3 separate regions of the Homo sapiens genome follow, and all the other regions are linked to region 1. The links are contacts of gene promoters, found by promoter capture Hi-C in blood cells and fetal thymus (Javierre and others, 2016). All regions are on one chromosome and are shown on one strand. The core of a region is centred on a gene start or on the middle of the fragment in contact, and the rest is flanking DNA. Distances in the headings are between cores, read along the strand shown.

What was found. The method cuts DNA at HindIII sites, captures the fragments that hold promoters and counts their contacts. A CHiCAGO score of 5 or more calls a contact.
Region 2: a contact is called between a fragment that was not itself captured here and the fragment with the promoter of CEBPE in region 1, in 2 of 17 cell types (M0 macrophages and M2 macrophages). The highest score is 6.4, in M0 macrophages.
Region 3: a contact is called between a fragment that was not itself captured here and the fragment with the promoter of CEBPE in region 1, in 1 of 17 cell types (M0 macrophages). The highest score is 5.0, in M0 macrophages.

The regions. Positions count from the first base shown.
Region 1 is chr14:23,116,475-23,120,504 of GRCh38, forward strand. It overlaps CEBPE (CCAAT enhancer binding protein epsilon), which reads right to left and starts at 2,781. Exons shown (of 2, transcript NM_001805.4): 1 at 2,108-2,781; 2 at 832-1,348. The coding sequence starts at 2,617. The coding sequence ends at 1,013. RefSeq lists enhancers at 3,420-3,499, 3,580-4,030. The HindIII fragment of the contact is 9,723 bases long and covers 231-4,030 here.
Region 2 is chr14:22,989,461-22,993,490 of GRCh38, forward strand. C14orf93 (chromosome 14 open reading frame 93) reads right to left here. Exons shown (of 7, transcript NM_021944.4): 4 at 606-667; 5 at 282-385. It overlaps AJUBA-DT (AJUBA divergent transcript), which reads left to right. Exons shown (of 3, transcript XR_007064074.1): 2 at 289-746. Among named protein-coding and RNA genes, the nearest start is that of AJUBA-DT, 7.2 kb to the left of the region's middle. The HindIII fragment of the contact is 4,277 bases long and covers 1-4,030 here.
Region 3 is chr14:23,207,834-23,211,863 of GRCh38, forward strand. All of the region lies in intron 1 of LOC105370406 (a long non-coding RNA gene), which reads right to left. It also overlaps a transcript of RNF212B not described here. Among named protein-coding and RNA genes, the nearest start is that of SLC7A8, 26 kb to the left of the region's middle. The HindIII fragment of the contact is 8,966 bases long and covers 1-4,030 here.

The DNA of each region.
Region 1 (4,030 bases), core at 1,531-4,030:
AGGCTCACAGCTAGTAAGTAGCAGTGTAAGATTCAAACTGAGGCTCTTAATTATTGTACCATTCTGTCTCTTAGGCTGTAGTCCAATGCAAAAGAAAATGCTGTTTCGAATGATGGGTTTCCCTGGCACGGGCAGATTGTCATCCTCCTTCTCACTACCAGTGTTCTCATACACAAATCCGGTCTCCAGGTCTTTCCCAACCGATTCCTGTCCCATGCACTCAATTCTCAAGCTTTAGGGAACTGGAGCCTCAGGGATGAGGGACAAAGGATGGAAATGAATGGGTGGGAGCAGCGTGGGGAGGGTGTCCATCTGGTAGACTGAGGCTTTGGAAATGGAGAGAAGAGATGGCGGGCTGGATCAAGGGACCATAAATATGGCAGAGCCATCAGGAATTTTCCCATGGTCACCTGGGGCAGGAGCTCCCAGACCTATACCTCAAGGTGAGAGAGAGTGGGCCTGGGATCAGCAGGCCTGGGCATGAAGGACTGTGTGGTGCCGGGATCTCCCTACAAGCTGAAGATCTTTGTTAGCAGAGCATACAAAGGTGCTCCAGGTCCTGTGGGGGGCGGGGATGTGCCTTCAGCTCACAGAAGGGGGTGATGGGGGATGTCAGGGAGAGAAGAGCAGAGTGACAGATACACGGCCTGGCTGTGTGGTATATTGGGGGTGGGCTGTGGACAGCATGTCTGTGTTTCCACATGTCCACTTGGTCATGGAAACAAGAGGTGCAGACCTAGCCACATGCATCCTCTGTCCCCAGGGTCCTCCATGACACACACACACACACACACACACACACACACACACACACAGCCAACAGTCCCAACACCCAGTCACAGTGCAACTTTATTCAGCCATATAATCATTATGCTGGGTCCTGCCCTCTTTGCCACCCCGGTTGCCATTTATCCATGGTCTATGTCTCAGGGTTCTAGGCCCCCAGCAGGATGGGGGTCCGCAGAGTTAGGCCGTGCCAGGGAGCCTGGTGCCCACAATCCACCAGCCAGCCTCAGCTGCAACCCCCCACGCCCTTGATGAGGTTGGCCGCCTCAGGAATCTGGCGGAAGAGGTTGCGGAGGGTGTCTAGCTCCTGGGTGAGCTGCTCCACGCGGCTGCGGAGGCGCTCGTTCTCTGCCATGTACTCCAGCACCTTCTGCTGCGTCTCCAGAATGCGCCTCTTGGCCTTGTCTCGGCTCTTGCGCACGGCGATGTTGTTGCGCTCCCGCCTCAGCCGGTACTCAAGGCTATCTTTGTTCACTGCCTTCTTGCCCTTGTGTAAGGGGCCAGCCGGGGAGGGCGCCTTCAGGAGGGGACTGCAGGGGGGTGCGGCAGTGGCCAAAGGGGCCTGGAGGGGAAGGCACGGAGAGACGGAGAGGTGAGGGCTGGCCAGGAGGCAGAGCGGAGGCGGGGCGGGAATCTCGGCAGCCAGGGCACACTTGATGCGTCAAAGGAATACAGGACTCAGAGCCAGCTCCTGTCTCTCAGGTCAAAACTATCATCGCTCTGCTTCTGGGAGATGGTGACCCAGATGCACAGGGTCCTCTGCTTGAGACCAAAACTCCCTTTCATGTTCTCACACTTTCTTTCTTTCTTTTTTTGTAAAGATGGAGCCTTGCTATGTTGTCCAGGCTGGTCTCCAACCCCTGGCCTTAAGCGAACCTCCTGCTTTGGCCTCCCAAAGCGCTGGGATTACAGGCATGAGCCACGACACCCAGCCAATGCTCTCACACTTTCTGAGTACACTTTCCCTCAATCTGCCTTGAGTCTCCCGTTCTATGACCAGTAGACATTTCTCACAGAAGCAGGCGGCAGAGAAACAAGAGGAGGGGGCATGGTGAGCAGCAGAGAGGCTGGCGGTGGGGGCCTGAGATCAAGTAGGTCAGCTTGCCACAGGGGCTTTGGGTGGGGATTCAGGGTGGGAATGAATTCACAGAGAAGGAAAGGGAGGTCATGGTGGGGTGTGAACACAGAGGACTGTGGGTTGGGTCCATTTCACAGAGCGACACCAAGCACAGGCTCAGCAGCATGAGCCGGGGCACAGGGTCCTGTCCACACCAGCCTCTCCAGCCCCGGGCAGGAGGGAGGAGGGCTGGCCTGCTCTTACCTTGAGAACGCGCAGAGGCTGGCCGGGTGCTGCCAGAGTTGGGGGCAGGTGCATGGCTGTCTGCCCACAGTGTGCCACTTGGTACTGCAGGGGATTGTAGCTGCCTCGGCTGGCAGCTCGGCTGCCCTCTGGCCCCCGGGGCTCCTCCTTCACCGCCACAGCCCTGGGGTCGTAGCTCCCTGGGCTGCTGTAGATGCCAGGCCCCAGCGCCTTCCTGTCTGGGCCGAAGGTATGTGGAGGGTAGGCAAAGGGCCGAGGGTCAGGCGGCAAGTAGTGGGGGAAGGCAGGGGTTCCGGGGCCCTTGAGGCCTCTGGCCTCAGGCGCTGGCTTCACGGCAAAGAGATCGGAGAGAAGCTGCTCTTCCCCAGACTCGATGTAGGCGGAGAGGTCAATGGAGGCCTCATGCTCACACATGTCCCCTAGCTCCCCGGGCCCAGCTCGGCCCCCTGAGAACTCGAGTGGCTGCTGGCCACCCCGGGGCTCACACTCGTAGTAGGTCCCGTGGGACATGGCCGGCCCGCCCCCTCGGCTCCCCGCCCCCACCTGCTCTTGAGGCACCCCTTGGGGTGCTCCGGCTGCCCTCTCTCTACCTCCTCCTGACCTGGGCCTGCCCTCTCTCGATCTTCTGCCCTAGACCTGCCCTCTGCAGTCTCCTCTGTCACCCACTCCTGTGTGGCCTCTCTCCCCCCTCTGCTCTGCTTCCTTTTCCTTCCTCTGTAGTCAATGCCTCTCTTCTCTTCCCTTTTTTCCCCTCTCTCCCCTTGGGGTGACTCAGGGAGGGGCAGGACACACCCCAGAGGGAGAGATGTAAGCCTTAGAGAAAGGCGACTCCTGGCCTATTCAGCAGTTGGGGACACTCCTTGGTCAGGGACCAAGCCAGGGTTCTGGAGATGCCCGAAGCTGATGCTTCTGGGAATGCCTCTCCACTCCCTGCTGGGAGGCCAGGGGACTCCAAATCCTCGCAGAGGGCAACACCCCACTCTGAGCAACCTCCTCCCTCCGACTTTGAAAAAGTTCTATGCAGAATGAGGTTCCAAGTTAGAGTGAAGAGAGAAAGCCCTCTTCCAGTGCCTACCCTCAGTTGGGTCTCACCTCCTCCCTTGACACGCCTTCCTCTGGCTCTCCCCTGCTGCTGGGCTCCACCTACCCCCAAGAGAAAGTTTCTTTTGTAGCCCCACCTCCCAGAGCATTCTCTGAGTGTAGGCCAGGGTTTGTTTTTTGAGGGGTCTAGGGAGTAGTGATAGGTCCTAGGAACAAGCTCTACACGCGAGCCTGCGTGGTGCTCCAGAGCATGCTCATTTGCTAGGTTTTTGCACAGGAGCTGTGCAATAGCCCACATGTTAGTGCGTTTCCAGCCCTAGCTACCTCTAGCAGCCTGGTACACTTCCTAACTCCCTGGGCTTGGCCAAAGCACCTGGTCAGGACTTGGGCCTTGCACCGCAGGCCTAGGCAGGTTGCTGCCCTCGGAGTAGACAGCCATAATCCTCCGGTGGCTCCAGCACTTCTCTCTTCCAGCTGCTCTGTGCTGCAAGAGGCTCAGGCTGGTGCTTCGCCCCTCACCCTGGGCCTGAGGCTCTGCCTCTGGTTTCCTGTGCCTGGGCTGCAGGGCTTAGGAGCTTGCTGCAGCTCGTTTGCTGTCTTTCCTTTTGCATGGCCGCTCTCTGATCTCCAATGCGTGTCTCTTGGGTCTACTTCCTCTTGTGAGGTTTGAGAAGCCTCTTATGTCATCACCTCTTCCTGGGGCTCTGTTTTAGGGTCTCCAGGAGAAGCCCATGGCTCCCTCTCTGCAATTCTTTGTTCTGTGCTGGCTCTCCTCTTCCCTTTTCTCTTTCCTTTGGGAACTCCCCACTACCTCCTTTCAGAGACACCTGCTCTGGTACTGCTTTTACCTGTTGAATTTCATCTCCAAAAGGGATTGTAGGT
Region 2 (4,030 bases), core at 743-3,242, 130 kb before region 1:
GTAACACCTTAGGTGCAAGACCTGCATAAACAGAATGCATGATGCTGTTCTAGCCCTTTCCTTCTCTCATTTTCGTTTCAGACTGAGAGGGAAATAAACAGGCAATTTGAGATAATTCTATGAATATATTGAAGGTGAGAATAGCCAAAAAATGTTTCAAATCCACTATTTTCAAAACCACCTAATCATCTCTATTATTCCTCTTCTCCTCTGACCAAGAAAGAGGAGTGGGAGGAGAGGGGGAGAAAGGATGGCATAGGAGTTAAACCAGTTTTTCTCACCTTTTAGCTCCTTATCAGTGTAATTGTGGGGACTGGTCACCAGCTCTTGCTTGAGCTTTTCCAGAAGAAACTTCACTACTGAAATATTCCAAGAGGACTTGATGCTGCCACAAAGAGAAGAGAATGAATAAAGTTGTCGGCTTTGTAAGAGCCAGACAAACAGAGATACCCAGCACTAATCAACTTTGTGGCAAATCCCTCCACAGCCTAAGAAGGTATGGTGAGATCAAAGCCTTAGTCTCATTGCTGTATTGGAGCATCCCCCTCTACTTCCCTGTCCTTAGCAAAGTACCTTCTAATTCTTTTTCCTCAAGGAGACCATACCTTTCAGACCCATTGAATCTCTTGTCATTGGTGATGTGGTTATGCACATTGTGGACCAGTTTCTAGGAGGAAAAAAAGAAAACACAATCAAGCCAAGAGTGGATGTTATGAAAACTCTCCTCTGGTCCCTAGGGTAAAAAGGTATTGTCCCTAAGGGGCTCTCTGCCTGAATCCTTTCTAAGCCAAGAGCCTATCCAAGTTACTATTTCTAGTGTGGTCTTCCCTGACTTTTCATTTCATGTGTGTCAGGATTCCAGGATCATCCCTGGCCTTACTTCTGCTCCTGAGTAGTGTGATCACTGGAGCAGAGGGTCTCAAACATTTCCATGAACATACCCCTGATAGCAACGAGAAAGCAAGTATACACCAGGAGTACTGCGAGTGAACATTTCTTTTTTACTTTTCTTTCTTTTTTTTTTTTTGAGATGGAGTCTTGCTCTGTCGCCCAGGCTAGAGTGCAGTGGCGCGATCTCGGCTCACTGCAACCTCTGCCTCCCGGGTTCAAGCGATTCTCCCGCCTCAGCCTCTCGAGTAGCTCAGAGTACGGGCACCTGCCATCATGCCTGGCTAATTTTTGTATTTTTGTAGAGACGGGGTTTCACCATGTTGGCCAGGCTGGTCTTAAACTCCTGATCTCAGGTGATCTGCCCGCCTTGACCTTCCAAAGTGGTGGGATTACAGGCATGAGCCACCACGCCCAGCCAAGTGAACATTTCCTGAAGTCCCCTTCTCTTGCACTTTTTTTTCTTTCCTTTTCTTTTTTTTTTTTTTGAGACGGAGTCTCGTTATGTCGCCCAGGCTGGAGTGCAGTGGCACGATCTTGGCTCACTGCAAGCTCTGCCTCTCGGGTTCACGCCATTCTCCTCCCTCAGCTTCCTGAGTAGCTGGGACTACAGGTGCCTGCCACCACGTCCGGCTAATTTTTTGTATTTTTAGTAGAGACGGGGTTTCACCGTGTTAGCCAGGATGGTCACAATCTCCTGACCTCATGATCTGCCCGCCTCGGCCTCCCAAAGTGCTGGGATTACAGGTGTAAGCCACTGCGCCCGGCCCCTACTCTTGCACATTTAAATTTTTTCTTCAAAATGTATTTGTATTTCTTTTCTTTTTTTTTTTCTTTCTGAGACAGAGTTTCACTCTGTCACCCAGGCTGGAGTGCACTCATTAAAAAGTTTTGCCAGCCGGGCGCGGTGGCTCATGCCTGTAATCCCAGTACTTTGGGAGGCCAAGGCAGGTGGTGCCATCTCAGCTCACTGCATCCTCCGCCTCCCGGGTTCAAGCAATTCTCCTGCCTCAGCCTCCTGAGTAGCTGGGACTACAGGTGCACCACCACCACATCCAGCTAATTTTTGTATTTTTAGTAGAGATGGGGTTTCACCATGTTGGTCAGGCTGGTCTCGAACTCCTAACCTTGTGATCTACCCACCTCAGCCTCCCAAAGTGTGCTGGGATTACAGGTGTGAGCCACCGCACCGGGCCTGTTTAATATAAAAATGTCTTCTGCAATTTTTCTTTTTTCTTTTTGAGACAGAGTCTCACTCTGTTGCCAGGCTGGAGTGCAATGGCGGGATCTCGGCTCACTGCAACCTCCACCTCCCGGGTTCAAGCAATTCTCCTGCCTCAGCCTCCCGAGTAGCTGGGACTACAGGTGCACCACCACCACATCCAGCTAATTTTTGTATTTTTAGTAGAGATGGGGTTTCACCATGTTGGCCAGGATGGTCTTGATCTCTTGACCTCGTGAACCACCTGCCTCAGCCTCCCAAAGTGCTGGGATTACAGGCATGAGCCACCGTGCCTGGCCATCTTCTGGAATCTGCTAGTAAAACTGATGACCCAGGCAAAAGCCCCGGGTTTGTCTGTGGCTTTATGTATTTCTTCATGTGTTACCACAAATCTCTGGAGTATATACACCATGGTCTGAAAAACAGAAATCTAAAATAACAGAAACGTGAATCGGAAAAGACCGTGGAGGCTATATTATATTACCCAATCTCCCTTTCACATCATTAAACAGGCTGTCTTTCCACTTTGTTTATACCCATCTAATGATGAGTTCTCCATTCTGAGTCAGCTTATTCTATTGTTGAACATTTCTACTCATTAAAAAGTTTTGCCGGCTGGGCGTGGTGGCTCATGCCTGTAATCCCAGTACTTTGGGAGGCCAAGGCGGGTGGATCACCTGAGGTCAGGAGCTCGAGACCAGCCTGACCAACATGGTGAAACCTCATCTCTACTAAAAATACAAAAATTAGCCAGGCGTGGTGGCGTGCGACTGTAGTCCCAGCTACTCAGGAGGCTGAGACAGAGGAATTGCTTGAACCCAGGAGGCGGAGGTTGCAGTGAGCTGAGATCGTGCCACTGCACTCCAGCCTGGGCAATAAAGTGAGACTCTGTTTCAAAAAAAAAAAAAAAAGAAAGAAAAAGTTTTGCCTTAGATGCTTCAAAATCTGTTCCCAGTTTTGCCCATAATAGCACCTAAAATATTTATTTATTTATTTATTTATTTATTTTTATTTTTTATTTTTTTGAGATGGAGTCTTACTCTGTAGCCCAGGCTGGGGTGCAGTGGCGTGATCTCGGCTCACTGCAACCTCTGCCTCCAGGGTCCTGGTTCAAGCAATTCTCCTGGCTCAGCCTCCCTAGTTAGCTGGGATTACAGGAATGCACCACCATTCCCAGCTAATTTTTGTATTTTTGGTAGAGATGGGGTTTCACCATGTTGGCCAGGCTGGTCTTGAACTCCTGACCTCGTGATCCACCCACCTCGGCTTCCCAAAGTGCTGGGATTACAGGCATGAGCCACCACGCCCAGCTTTATTTATTTATTAAGAGACAGAGTCTTGCTCTGTTGTCCAGGCTAGAGTGCAGTGGTGTGGTCTCAGCTCACTGCAACCTCCGCCTCCCAGGTTCAAGTGATTCTCCTACCTCAGCCTCTCAAGTGGCTGGGATTACAGGCGCACGCCACCACGCCCAGCTAATTTTTGTATCTTTAGTAGAGACGTGGTTTCACCATGTTGGCCAGGCTAGTCTCAAACTCCTGACCTCAGGTGATCTGCCCGCCTTGGCCTCCCAGAGTGCTGGGATTACAGGCGTGAGCCACCGCACCCGGCCCTAATGCAGGGTTTTAACATGTCCTTCAATTAAGTTTAGTTGTTTCTGATTGTATTTTCATCCCAAGCTCCCTCAGTCAGTGGAAGTTACCCAGTCCCAAACTGACAGATTAATATCCTGATCCAAGGACTTTTCAGCTCCATATTCAGAAATCCCCAATTTATCCTTCTACCTCTATGGCTGATTCACCATACCAACTTAGGAAAGTATTGTCAACTCTTTATGGCTAGGGTCTCCACTCTGTAAAAAGGACCATTATTATACTAGCTGCATATTCAACATAGTTATTTTACCTCTTAGTAGTCCACACT
Region 3 (4,030 bases), core at 556-3,055, 90 kb after region 1:
AGACATGAGACATCAATCAATATATGTAAGAATAACATTGGTTCAGTCTGGAAAGGTGGGACAACTTGAAGCAAAGGTAGGCAGACTCTAAGCGGAGAGGGGGCTTCCAGGTCACAGATAAATGAGACATTGCATTCTTTTGAGTTTCTGTTAGCCTTTCCAAAGGAGGCAATCAGATATGCATCTATATCAGTGAGTACAGGGGTGACTTTGAAGAGAATGGGAGGCAGGTTTGCCCTAAGCAGTTCCCAGCTTGACTATTCCCTTTAGCTTAGTGATTTGGGGGCCCCAAGATTTATTTCCTTTCACAATAAGGGCAACCTGGGCTCCTTGGAGAAATGGCTTTTAGAGCTGGGTCAAGGAAAGCACGAGATGAGTGTGGCACATTTCAAAAGACTTAGGAGTCAGCCGGATGTGGTGGCTCACACTTGTAATTCCAGCACATTGGACGAGAAGATCACTGGAGGCCAGGAGTTTGAGACCCTGTCCCTCCAAAAATAAATAAATACATAAATTAGTCCAGAGTGATGGTGTGTGCCTGTAGTTCTAGCTACCTGGAAGATTGGAGCTGGAGAATAACTTGAGCCCAGGAGTTCAAGACTGCAATGAGCTATGATCACACTGCACTCTAGAATGGGTGACAGAGTGAGATCCTATCTCTAAAAAAAATGACATAGGAGTCAATCTGAAAGTGCTCTTCCATGGCCAAAGCTGGAATAATTTGAGCAACAAAATAAGTAGCACAGTATTGTTACAGGAAAGGGGCCCAGACCCAGACCCCAAGAGAGAGTTCTTGGATCTCACTCAAGAAAGAACTCAGGGTGAGTCTGCAGTGCAAAGTGAAAGCAAGTTTATTAAGAAAGTAAAGGAATAAAAGAATGGCTACTTCACAGACAGAGCAGTCCCAAGGGCTGCTGGTTGCCGTTTTTTTTTTTTTTTTTTTGAGACGGAGTCTCACTCTGTCGCCCAGGCTGGAGTGCAATGGCGCGATCTCAGGTCACTGCAAGCTCTGCCTCCCAGGTTCACGCCATTCTCCTGACTCAGCCCCCTGAGTAGTTGGGACTACAGGTGCCCGCCACTACGCCTGGCTAATTTTTTGTATTTTTAGTAGAGACGGGGTTTCATCGTGTTAGCCGGGATGGTCTCGATCTCCTGACCTCGTGATCCGCCCGCCTTGGCCTCCCAGAGTGCTGGGATTACAGGCGTGAGCCACCGTGCCCGGCCTGGTTGCCCATGTTTATGGTTATGTATTGATGATATGCTAAACAAGGGGTGGATTATTCATGCCTCCCCTTTTTAGACCATATAAGATAACTTCCTGACGTTGCCATGGCATTTGTAAACTGTCATGGTGCTGGTGGGAGTGTAGCAGTAAGGACGACCAGAGGTCACTCTCGTAGCCATTTTGGTTTTGGTGGGTTTTGGCCGGTTCCTTTACCGCAACCTGTTTTACCAGCAAGGTCTTTATGACCTGTATTTTGTGCTGACCTATCTCATCCTGTGACTTAGAATGCCTTAACCATCTGGGAATGCAGCTCAGTAGGTTTCAGCCTCATTTTACCCAGCTCCTATTTAAGATGGAGTTGCTCTGGTTCACACACCTCTGACAGTATTAGATTATAATCCAATGTATAAAATGTGTAAAAGTATCTAATATTAGATATCCAATGTATAAAATATACATGCCTCCATACTGATATAAACAAATGATTGACTAAAAGACTAAATGGTGGAGTGGAAACAAATCTTTACAGAATACTTTGACTTCCAAATTTTAAATAATATATGTAGATACTTTTTCTTGCAGGAGGTAATGCTTAACCACTTTGAGGGTAGGCTGGATTGAGGGACTCTCTTTCAAAGAATAGATGGAAAGGGAAAAATAGTAACTTTACAGTGGAGAAACCTGGCAACCACTCTCTTAAACAACAACTCAAAATTAATATCATCAGTTAGATATATGGATATCATGTACCCCTGATACAACATGATGACAGGGCACTTTGCCTCTGTGATTCTTTTAAAACATCTATGACTGGCCCAGTGAGGTGACTCAAACCTGTAATCACAGCACTTTGGGAGGCCGAGGTGGGCTGATCACTTGAAGCCAGGAGTTTGAGACCAGCCTGGCCAACATGATGAAACCCTGTCTCTGTTAAAAATACAAAAATTAGCTGGCATGATGTGTGTGCCTGTAATCCCAGCTACTGGGGAGGCTGAGGCAGGAAAATTGCTTGAACCTGGAAGGTGGAGGTTGCAGGGAGCCAAGATTGCACCACTGCACTCCGCCTGGGCAATAGAGTGAGACTGTCTCAAAACACGAACAAACAAAATAAACAAATACCCCTATGACTAAGTTGAATCATGATACAAGCATCAGACAAGCCCAAACTGAGGGACATTCTACAAAACACATGACCCATTTTCCTTAAAACCGTCAAGCTCATGAAACACAATGAAAGATTGAGAAACCGTCTCTGACCAGAGAATGCTAATGAGACATGACAATGAAACGCAGTGCGGTATATAGGCTTGGACTGTAGAACAGAGAAAGGATATTAGTAGGAAAATGAGATTTGAACAAAGTCTGGAGTTTAGTTAATTATAATGTGCCAATGTTGGTTTCTCAGTTTTGACAAATATCACATAGAAATGTAGGATGGGGTGGGCGTGGTGGCTCACGCCTATAATCCCAGAACTTTGGGAGGCTGAGGCGGGTGGATCACGAGGTCAGGAGTTTGAGACCAGTCTTGCCAACATAGTGAAACCCCGTCTCTACTAAAAATGCAAAAAATTAGCTGGGTGTGGTGGTGTGAGCCTGTAATCCCAGCTACTCAGGAGGCTGAGGCAGGAGAATTGCATGAGCCCAGGAGGTGGAGGTTGCAGTGAGCCAGGATCACGCCATTGCCCTCCAGTCCAGGTGACAGTGTGAGACTCTGTCTCAAAAAAAAAAAAAAAAAAAGAAATGTAGGATGATAACATTAGGGAAAACTGAAACTGGGTGAAGGATATCCAGGAACTCTCTGTACTACCTTTGCAAACTTTCCTGTAAATCTAAAATTATTCCAAAATAAAAAGCTATTTTACAAAAAGATAATGAATAAGATAATGTTATAAACAGTGTTAAAGCAACAAATTCACTTTGGGAGGCCAAGGTGGACAGATCACGAGGTCAGGACTTCGAGACCAGACTGGCCAACATAGTGAAACCCCGTCTCTACTGAAAATAAAAAAATTAGCTGGTCGTGATGGCGTACGCCTGTAATCCCAGCTACCTGGGAGGCTGAGGCAGGAGAATTGCTTGAATCTGGGAGGTGAAAGTTGTGGTGAGCTGAGATTGCACCACTGCCCTCCAGCCTGGGCAACAGAGTGAGACTCTGTCTCAAAAAAAAAAAGAAAGAAAAAGCAACAAATTGAACAACTTAGATAAAAATGGACGAACTCCTTGAAAGACATAAACTACTAAAACACAGGCAAGATGAATAGATAACCTAAATATCTCTATACCTATTAATATAATTGAATTTGTAGCTAAAAATCTTCCCACAAAGAAAACTCCAGGCTTAGATGGCTTCACTGGTAAGTTCTACCAAACATTTAAGAAAAAAATAATGCCAATTCTACACAAATACTCCCCAAAAGTTAAAGAGAAAGGAATAGTTCCCCAATGATTCTTAGAGGTCAGCATTATTCAGATACCAAAATCATACAAAGATCGTACCAGAAAACTAAAGACCAGTTCCTCTCACGAACATAAATGCAGCAAATAAAATCAAACAATGCATAAAAAGGATAATACGTCATGAACAAATTTATCCCAGGAACACATAATTGATTTAACATTCAAAAACAATGTAATTCACCATAGAGACACACTTAAAAAATAAAAATTAGTATTATTATTTTTGAGACAGAGTCTCCCACTGTCACCCAAGCTGGAGTGCAGTGGTGCAAACTTGGCTCACTGAAACCTCTGCCTCCAGGATTCAAGCATTTCTCTCGCCTCAGTCTCCCAAGTAGCGAGGACTAC